2 separate regions of the Homo sapiens genome follow, and region 2 is linked to region 1. Evidence: promoter capture Hi-C in human tissues and cell types (Jung and others, 2019). All regions are on one chromosome and are shown on one strand. Each heading gives the region's core, a stretch centred on a gene start or on the middle of the fragment in contact. The rest is flanking DNA. Distances are from core to core; before and after follow the strand shown.

Region 1 (3,646 bases), core at 1,147-3,646:
GGTGGAGGGGGAGGCCACGGCTCACCTCCAGCTCTGCCAGGCTCGACATCACCTGTTAGGAACAAAGCACTCGGTTCCAGGCCCAAGCCTCCTCTGCACCCCACATCAGTCAGTCCTCAAGCCCAGTGAGTCCTCAGCTCCCACACACCCCGAACTGGGCCCAGCCAGGGGCCCGGGCCACGTCTGGCACCCCTGTTGTTTCCTCAAGGAGCCCTGGGGCTTGGATGCCTCCCTCAGTCTCCCCGGGCGTCCAGATCCCCCACCCGCCCACTCACTGCCACCCAGGTGCAAGCATTTGCCCACGGTAAGGGGTGAGGGAGCCTGTGGGTCCCTCTTCATCCTTCTCACCCTGAGCCCCACACAGGGTGGAGTGCCTGGGGGCGGGGACATGTGACCTGGTGCCTGAGGGGAAATCCACCCACCTGTCCACGTCCTGATTCTGCATTTTGCATTTTATCATAAAATCTTTCTATGGCCTGGTGCTGTGAAGAGAGGCAGAGTTGGCACCAAAGGGCCGGATCCTTGTCCCTCCAGGGTCCCAGGTGTCCCACAGTGTCCTCAGTGTCACACGCTGAGACCCAGGCCCCCAACCCCTGAGCAGAAGTAGGGAGGAGCATTACCATTCGGGCCTTCAGCTTCTTCATGTCATCAGAGAGGACCTGCGGAAATAACGGTGACACTCAGTCTCCATGTGTCACCTTAACCTTTCCTCCAGGATAATTTATACACACACACACACACACACACACACACACACACACACAGAGACACATGGCAGAGGTACAGGATAAGAGGAGACAGCAGTCCCAGGAGCCCCTCACAGCCTGGAAAGACCGGCCAGGGCTGTCCTCGAAACGACTCAGAAAGCGCTTCTCTCAGGAGCCGGCTCAGCTGGGCAGGCCCAAGAGCAGGGCCAGCATGGGCCTAGGTGACCCCTCCTCACAAGAGCAGGGCCTGCGTGGGCCTAGGTGACCCCTCCTCACAAGAGCAGGGCCTGCGTGGGCCTAGGTGACCCCTCCTCACAAGAGCAGGGCCTGCGTGGGCCTAGGTGACCCCTCCTCACAAGAGCAGGGCCTGCGTGGGCCTAGGTGACCCCTCCTCACAAGAGCAGGGCCTGCGTGGGCCGGGGTGTCCTCCCTGCACACACACACCCCCCCATGTACACACACGGGAGGATGGACACTGTCCTGGAGCAGGCTGGCTCAGCTGGGTTTCCCACAACCACTATGGTCCCAGGTGAGAGTTGGCCAAGGAAAAAATGTTTAGGGACATGACAATTGAGAAGGTAACAGCAGCCATTCCTCTCTGATGAGCTGATTAATATTTGGGGTGCCAGGTAGGTCCACCCTACAACCTGCCACTCTTCCCGACTGCCAACATGCAGACCCACAGGTCCCGGGCCATTCCTGCCTGCAGACACGTGGCTGCATCCACAGAGGCCAGAGGCACCCCACAGAATCCCCGCTGAGCCCCCACGTCAAGGGCCTAGTCTCGGGGGTGACATGCCTGGTTTCCCCCACTATAGAGTGGTGACAGTCACCCACAGAGTGCGCAGGGCCTGGGGACATATTCTGGGCAGGGCAGCTGTCTGCACACTTTCAGGCAGCGATGGTCCCATCCCGCTAGCCTGATTTCCCAGGAACCAGGGTGAAAGCAGCACCGTGCCGACATGCGGGAGCCATGTGTCCTCCGGGTCACTGTCCTGAACCTGAGCCAGGCCACATCATGGAAACCCCTATTGTCACAGGCCGAAGAGCTCCCTGGAGGGTGTGGTGGGCCTAGCATTTGCGGTGGGGCAGTGGTAGAGGATGGGAGGTCGGAGGGAACCCAGGAAAGGAGGAAGAGACACCAGGACCCACACAGGCCTTGCTCTTGGGCCCACCCAGCTGAGCCGGCCTCTGAGAGAAGCATTCTCCGAGTCGTTTCCAGCAGAGCCCTGCCCCACCCCTGCCCCGGGCTTTCCGGGCTGTGAAGGGCTCCTGGGACAGGTGCTCCCTCTCATCCACACCCCTGCCGTTCTCCAGCGCCCCCGACACATATGACCTCCAGCGCCTCCACTGACACTCTCACCCCATCACTATCCTCCTGCCGCTGGGTGCCCCTGACTGAGCCCTGACACACAGGCACCTCGGGAAATACTGAGGGCACCCGCACCCTTACGGTCTGTTTTCAGACATGCCCACAAAAGCACACGCAGCCTCTCACTCACCTTCGGGAAGCACATGGCGGCCAAAAGTTCAAGGAGCCAAGGCCTGCTGGCGAGGAACAGGTGTGAGGAAAAGAAAGTGTCTCAGAGAAGCACCCTCCTCCCCAGAGGGTCCTCACCTTCGGGGACCCCAACTCCCCACCTGAGATGACCCAGCTCCACTGAGACAGTCACCTTCTGCACGCAGTCTTCCTGGCACAAATACTCAGCTGGTTTTATGGGGAAAGTGGGGGGTAGTGGGCGGAGCCTCTCTCAGGGCAGGAGGCCTTGCTGAGTGCGTGAAAAACAGACAGAGACAGAGACAGAGACAGAGACAGACAGAGATGGAGACTTACCCGAGAGAGACAGAGGTCTGGGGTCCCTGGGAGGAATGAGGGTCCGTCCCTGGCTGGGCCCCTGCTCCCTCTGAGCTGGGGTGGGAGTCTCTGAGCCCAGGAATGGGCTGCTTTCCCCACCCCACCAGCCTGAGAGTGGGGAGGGGCAGAGGGAAAGTCCAGACTCGGGACAGCTGGCTGGGGAAACTCCCTGAGTACAGGAAGGTGACGTCAGCCAAGTGGGATCCAAGGACAAAGGAATTTGGACCCTGTCCTTGCATGAGGTGTGCCCCGGCTCCAGAGGCCAGAGAAACTTCTGGATCAGAAGGAGGCAGGAACTGCCGGACCTAAGAGGGGCGCCGTGAGGGCAGGGGCCTGTGCACGTTGGAGGGGTGGCTAGTGGTGATGTAGATCTACCTGTGGGACAAGATAGGACCCTCTGCAGGGTGGAAGGCATCCTGCCGGCTGTCTGAGCTTGGCTGACCAGGTCCTTCTGACCCTTCTGGGCCAAGGCAAGGCCATCTGGGGCCGAAGGTCACTGGTCTCAGCAATCTTGGGGCTCCCCTACGGGCTCTTCTAGCTCCACGGGTTCTGACCCTCCAGCCTGGCTGGGCCTCCCACCTCCTCCTCACGGCCCCCAGCCCCCTTCCCCCAGCTGAGCACAACCACGCCCTTGCCTTTGGGATGGTTTCCTGGGGCCAAACTAAGGAAGTACCACGACAAGGGGCCCTAAGTCGAAGACGTCTCTTCCCTCACGATCTGCAGGCTGGAGGTCCAAGGTCAATGTGGGCAGCGTGGGGTCCTTCTGAGGGCCCGGAGCTGGGATTCTGTTCAGGTTTCTCCTGCCCTTGTAGATGGCCATCTTCATCTTCATCACGTTCTGCCTGGGTGTGACTGTCCCCCTTTCCCCTTTCCAAAGGACACCAGTCATATTGAAATAGGGTCCACCCTAGGCCGGGCGCAGTGGGTCACGCCTGTAATCCCAACACTTTGGGAGGCCGAGGCGGGCAGATCACCTAAGGTCAGGAGTTCTAGACCAGCCTGGCCAACATGGTGAAACCTTGTCTCTACTAAAAATACAAAAATTAGCCTTGCGTGGTGGCCGGCACCTGTATTCCCAGCTACT
Region 2 (4,876 bases), core at 1,697-4,196, 380 kb before region 1:
ACGCCATTCTCCTGCCTCAGCCTCCCGAGTAGCTGGGACTACAGGTGCCCGCTACCACGCCTGGCTAATTTTTTGTATTTTTAGTATAGATGGGGTTTCATCGTGTTAGCCAGGATGGTCTCGATCTCCTGACCTTGTGATCTGCCCACCTCAGCCTCACAAAATGCTGGGATTACAGGCGTGAGCCACCGCACCCAGCCTTTCCTAACTTTCTGAAATGCACATATACTACTTTTGTAATGATGTTAGTTTTACTATTTTTAAAAAGATAATTTTCAGAGAAAGCAGATGCTGGGCTATAGAAATAATTTCAATACAAACAGGTTGTAGTTGTTATTACTGGTACCATGTTAAAGACAGAAATGGAAAAACTTGCAAAAGATTGTCGTGGAAGGATTTTTAAATTTTGATGATTAAAACATGTTACTTGAACATATAGTGGGTATACAGTCAAGCATTTGTGATTTTTTACAAAATTGAGTTAGGGATATAATGTGGTCTAATTTTTCAATCTTGGTCTATCTTGGACTTTGTATGTCATCTCTTTATTTTCAGGAAGATAAAGCTTTCAAGCTTCCTCCTTCTTTGTCCACTTGTTTATAGTTTTGATGGCTCTTAGGAAAGATAGTCTAGGGAAGATTTTTTCCTCTCCCATTTCAGGTATATCCCTCTCTCTCTGGTAATCCACTGAGTTAATACCACATGCTTCATTTCAAAGCATTGGAAACTGTGTTTATTTCTTTGTAATTATGGCAACAGGATTTAAAGAAGAGAGCCACGGGAGTCTCTTGTTCTTGGTGAAAGAGCCACAAATCCAGATAAGGAGAATCTCAGACCACAATGAGACAGTGCTGATGTAAGAATAGCATTAAATAGGCGGGGCGCGGTGGCTCACGCTTGTAATCCCAGCACTTTGGGAAGCCGAGGTGGATCATGAGGTCACGAGATCGAGACCATCCTGGCCAACATGATGAAACCCCATCTCTACTAAAAATACAAAAAAAAAAAATTAGCCGGACGTGGTGGCGGGCACCTGTAGTCCCAGCTACTCAGGAGGCTTAGGCAGGAGAATCATTTGAACCCCGGAGGCAGAGGTTGCAGTGAGTCAGGATTGTGCCACTGCACCCCAGTCTGGCTACAGAGTGAGACTGTCTCAAAAAAAAAAAAAAAAAAGAGATAAGCACAAACCAAGAAGGGAAAGATGACTACGTGAACACCACAGTGACTCAACCATGAACATCTCCTTTACTTACACCTTCATATACAGGCTATTAGCTCTTCTTCAACATATATGCTTTGGACTGGTCTAGCCTGTAGGCAAGTTTGTTCTTACCATTCTTCCACCTGTCCTGGAAGCACCTTTACTGGGACTTCACAGCTACCTCTTTTGTGATCCATCCCCACAAGGTCTAGCTCTTAGTTAGCTGTCAAGAGATATCATTTGTGGCAGATACTGCTAGTTTCTTATCTAACTTATTTTCCACATCTCTTTTTTTCATTTGTAACAAAGCCCTAATTTTGTGCAGGTAGATTATCAAGGGAGGCTAGGTCCTTCCCCTAGTGACAGGGGCTGAAGCATGATGGGCCCCAAACAATTATTTATTCTTGGTAATAACTAGTTTAGGATGGGTACATGACACAATACATGTCTGTATATTTTACCTGGATTCTATTGTCAACGTTACCAACATGCTTAGGGTGGCAGAGAAGCACTGGGACCTTGATGTTGTCACTGGGCCACCGAATTAACCAACCTGTAACTGCTCTTTGAACATCCTTTCGGTGGGTTTTCTGTTACTTGTAGCTGAAACTATCCTATCAGATATTCCACAAAATCACATTACCTAAGTTGTCAAATCTCCTAATATTGTTTTAATAACCATGCAGCCATTCATTAAGCTTTTAGATACAGGAATGTGCCTGGCACTGGAATAAGGAAATATGTTGAGACTTTTCAGGCTTTTCTATCAAGGTACCTATCATTTTCGTCTTTTTTTTTCCCCAAACACCTTTATAAACTGGCAATTTCTTTCACTTACATTATCTTATAATCTTTGAAATTACCCTCTGAGTTAGCCCAGAGAGGCACTCTGAGCTGTTTGCAGCTGAGGAAAGCAAAGTTGTAAACTGGCCAAGATTACCAACCAATCAGTGGCAGAGCTTGGGGAGGAGCTCAATTTTCCAATTCCAAATGCCTACACCAGGGCACTCCCTCCTCCCCCAGCACACAATAGGAAATGACTGGCTCTAGGGTAGGCTGCATGTGAGGTATCCGGGGGCGAACAACGTCCTGCGACGCTAACCTATGGCTCTATTCTCGCGTGGGATCCTGTGACTAGGAAGCTGAAGCAGCTCGCTTAGGCTGCAGCTGCGGGTACAATACGTAATGCCTCTATAACACTTTGAGTCAGAGTCCAGCAACCTGGCCTACACCGATGTGAACGTTGTGAACGTACACAAAGATACTCCTTCATGTTCCACGGCCCCACCATCCGCTCAAGACACAAAGGACAGCTCAAGCCCAGGCTAGGCCCGAACCCCCGCCCTCTCAATCACCTTGCTCTGGCCAGACCGAAATTTCAGGCCTACAGGGCACTGTTGGCCGAACCCACATTTTGTTACCGATTTTCTTTCGAGTTCCGGTGTCTCCCAGTCTTCTTTCTGTCCTTCTTCTCGGAAACATTACGTCCCCCTGGGGTCACCCTAAGACTCTACTTCAGCAGGCAAACAGGCCCGGAGCTCACGGAGGAGACCCCGCCAGCGGAAGCGGAAATGGTTGCTTAGAGAAAAGGAGGAAAACTACCTCTCGCAGCTGCCCAGTGGCTACAGGTCCTCGGTTAAGGTGTTCAATTGGTCAACACAAAAGAAGGACTTCCCCTTCGGGAGAACTTCGACCAATCAAAGGGCAGGATGGCGGAGAGGGCTGAGGGCGGGTCGCTTCCGGCGGCTTTTCCCGCAGCTCCTGCGTAAAGGAGCATGAGAGCGTGGGAGTTTTGCAGTGGCCGTGGCGTTCTTCGTCGCGTCTCGGTCGGGCGTCGCTTTCTGCAGCTCCTGTCAGGGAGCGCGAGGCCTGTTATTAACCGCGGAGCGGTAAGTGGGCCCCTTTCGAGGCCGGGCCAAGAGGAGGAGCAGTCGGCGTAGGTTTTTAAGGGGGGGTTCGGAGGGAATCGAGGGAGGCTAGGGGTAGTGGAGGAACTTGGCAGCGGAATTGGTCCCTTTAAGAACTGTTCTCTCCCCCCGCAGCTTTGTCACGAAGTCCCTGTGGCGTCTTGAAGAAGGCATTCCCCACCCGCCAAATGGCGTCCATGCCCCCGACGCCCGAGGCCCAGGTGAGTCGAGGTACCTTTTTCGTCCAAGTTTATTGCTGCTTTCGGTCTCTGCCTGACCCCCTCCTTTGGAGGAGAGTTGGGCATGCCTGTTGTGGTAGGAGTGCTCCTGAGCCCCAAATAGCCCTTTGACCAAGTGTTCTTCGTTCCAAGACCACACACATAATGGTTTACCAACTTCCTTCTTTCAGAACTACCAACTGGGAGCAGGGACCTGTGGAGGAATCTCTGAGAGAGTTTCTCAATGTCTTATCTGTTTGTTTTGTTTTGTTTGGAGATAGGGTCTGGCCTTGTCGCTGGAGTGTTGCTTGTCTGGCTGGAGTGCAGTGCTGATATCATAGCTCCGTCTGGAACTCAGGGAATCCTTACGCCTCAGCCTCTCGAGTATCTGAGAGGCGCGCATACCACAGTGTCTGGCTACTTTTAAAAGTTCTTTTTTTTTTTTTTTTGATACAGAGTCTCGCTCTGTCGCCCAGGCTGGAGTGCAGTGGCGCGATCTCGGCTCACTGCAAGCTCCGCCTCCCGGGTTCATGCCATTCTCCTGCCTCAGCCTCCCGAGTAGATGGGACTACAGGCGCCTGCCGCCACGCCCTGCTAATTTTTTGTATTTTTAGTAGAGACGGGGTTTCACCGTGTTAGCCAGGATGGTCTCAATCTCCTGACCTTGTGATCCGCCCGCCTCGGTCTCCCAAAGTGCTGGAATTACAGGTGTGAGCCACTGCGCCCGGCCTAAAACTTCTTTATGGAGATGGAGTCTTGCTGCTTTGCCAAGGAACTCCTGGCCTTCAGCTATCCTCCCACCTCGGCTCCCCAAAGTGCTAGGATTAAAAGTGACTTTCTGGAATGGTTCCCAAAATTACAGATTTGGTACTTCTCCAATTTGAATGAATTTTTAAATTAAGCACATTTCTAGACTCCACACTCGTTGAGTAATAATAAATCCCAAGTGATTAATTTATCACACCGTTAGAGAAGGTGGGGTAGGCCTGGATGAAGTGCTGGAGTGAGCTTAGCAATGAGTGTCATGGGGACGAGAGGAAATAGCAAAGGGAAGGATGTTGGGAGAATCCTGTAACCTTTATCTCTTTATGATTCTTCCTGGGCTGCCCAACTTTCTCCTTTTCTTTTCTTTTTTTTTTTTTTTTTGAGACAGTCTCGCTGCGACGCCTAGGCTGGAGTGCAATGGCGCGATCTCGGCTCACTGCAATCTCTGCCTCCTGGATTCAAACGATTCTCCTGGCCCAGCCTCCCAAGTAGCTGGGACTACAGGCGCATGCCACCACATCTGGCTAATTTCATTTTATTTTAATTTATTTTTTGAGACAGAGTTTTTTTTGTTGTTGTTTTGTTTTTGTTTTTGTTTTTGAGATGGAGTGTCGCTCTGTTGCCCAGGCTGGAGTGCAGTGGCACGATCTCAGCTCACTGCAAGCTCTGCTTGAGACGGAGTTTTACTCTTGTTGCCCAGGCTGGAGTGCAATGGTGCAATCTCGGCTTACTGCAACCTCTTTCTCCTAGGTTCAAATGATTCTCCTGCCTCAGCCTCCCAAGTA

Evidence for each region. The method cuts DNA at HindIII sites, captures the fragments that hold promoters and counts their contacts. A contact is called where the count stands out against the background at its distance.
Region 2: the fragment with the promoter of ZNF597 here is called in contact with the fragment with the promoter of IL32 in region 1 in 3 of the 25 tissues and cell types used here (IMR-90 fibroblasts, heart left ventricle and pancreas).

Annotation. Positions count from the first base shown.
Region 1 is chr16:3,064,390-3,068,035 of GRCh38, reverse strand. IL32 (interleukin 32) reads right to left here and starts at 2,396. Exons shown (of 7, transcript NM_001376923.1): 1 at 2,349-2,396; 2 at 2,210-2,252; 3 at 621-659; 4 at 423-482; 5 at 26-52. The coding sequence starts at 2,224. RefSeq lists enhancers at 1-254, 2,593-2,902. The HindIII fragment of the contact is 16,762 bases long and covers 1-3,646 here.
Region 2 is chr16:3,441,574-3,446,449 of GRCh38, reverse strand. It overlaps ZNF597 (zinc finger protein 597), which reads left to right and starts at 2,946. Exons shown (of 4, transcript NM_152457.3): 1 at 2,946-3,090; 2 at 3,244-3,329. The coding sequence starts at 3,297. It overlaps NAA60 (N-alpha-acetyltransferase 60, NatF catalytic subunit), which reads right to left and starts at 2,770. Exons shown (of 8, transcript NM_001083601.3): 1 at 2,613-2,770. RefSeq lists an enhancer at 2,537-2,686. The HindIII fragment of the contact is 11,416 bases long and covers 1,237-4,876 here.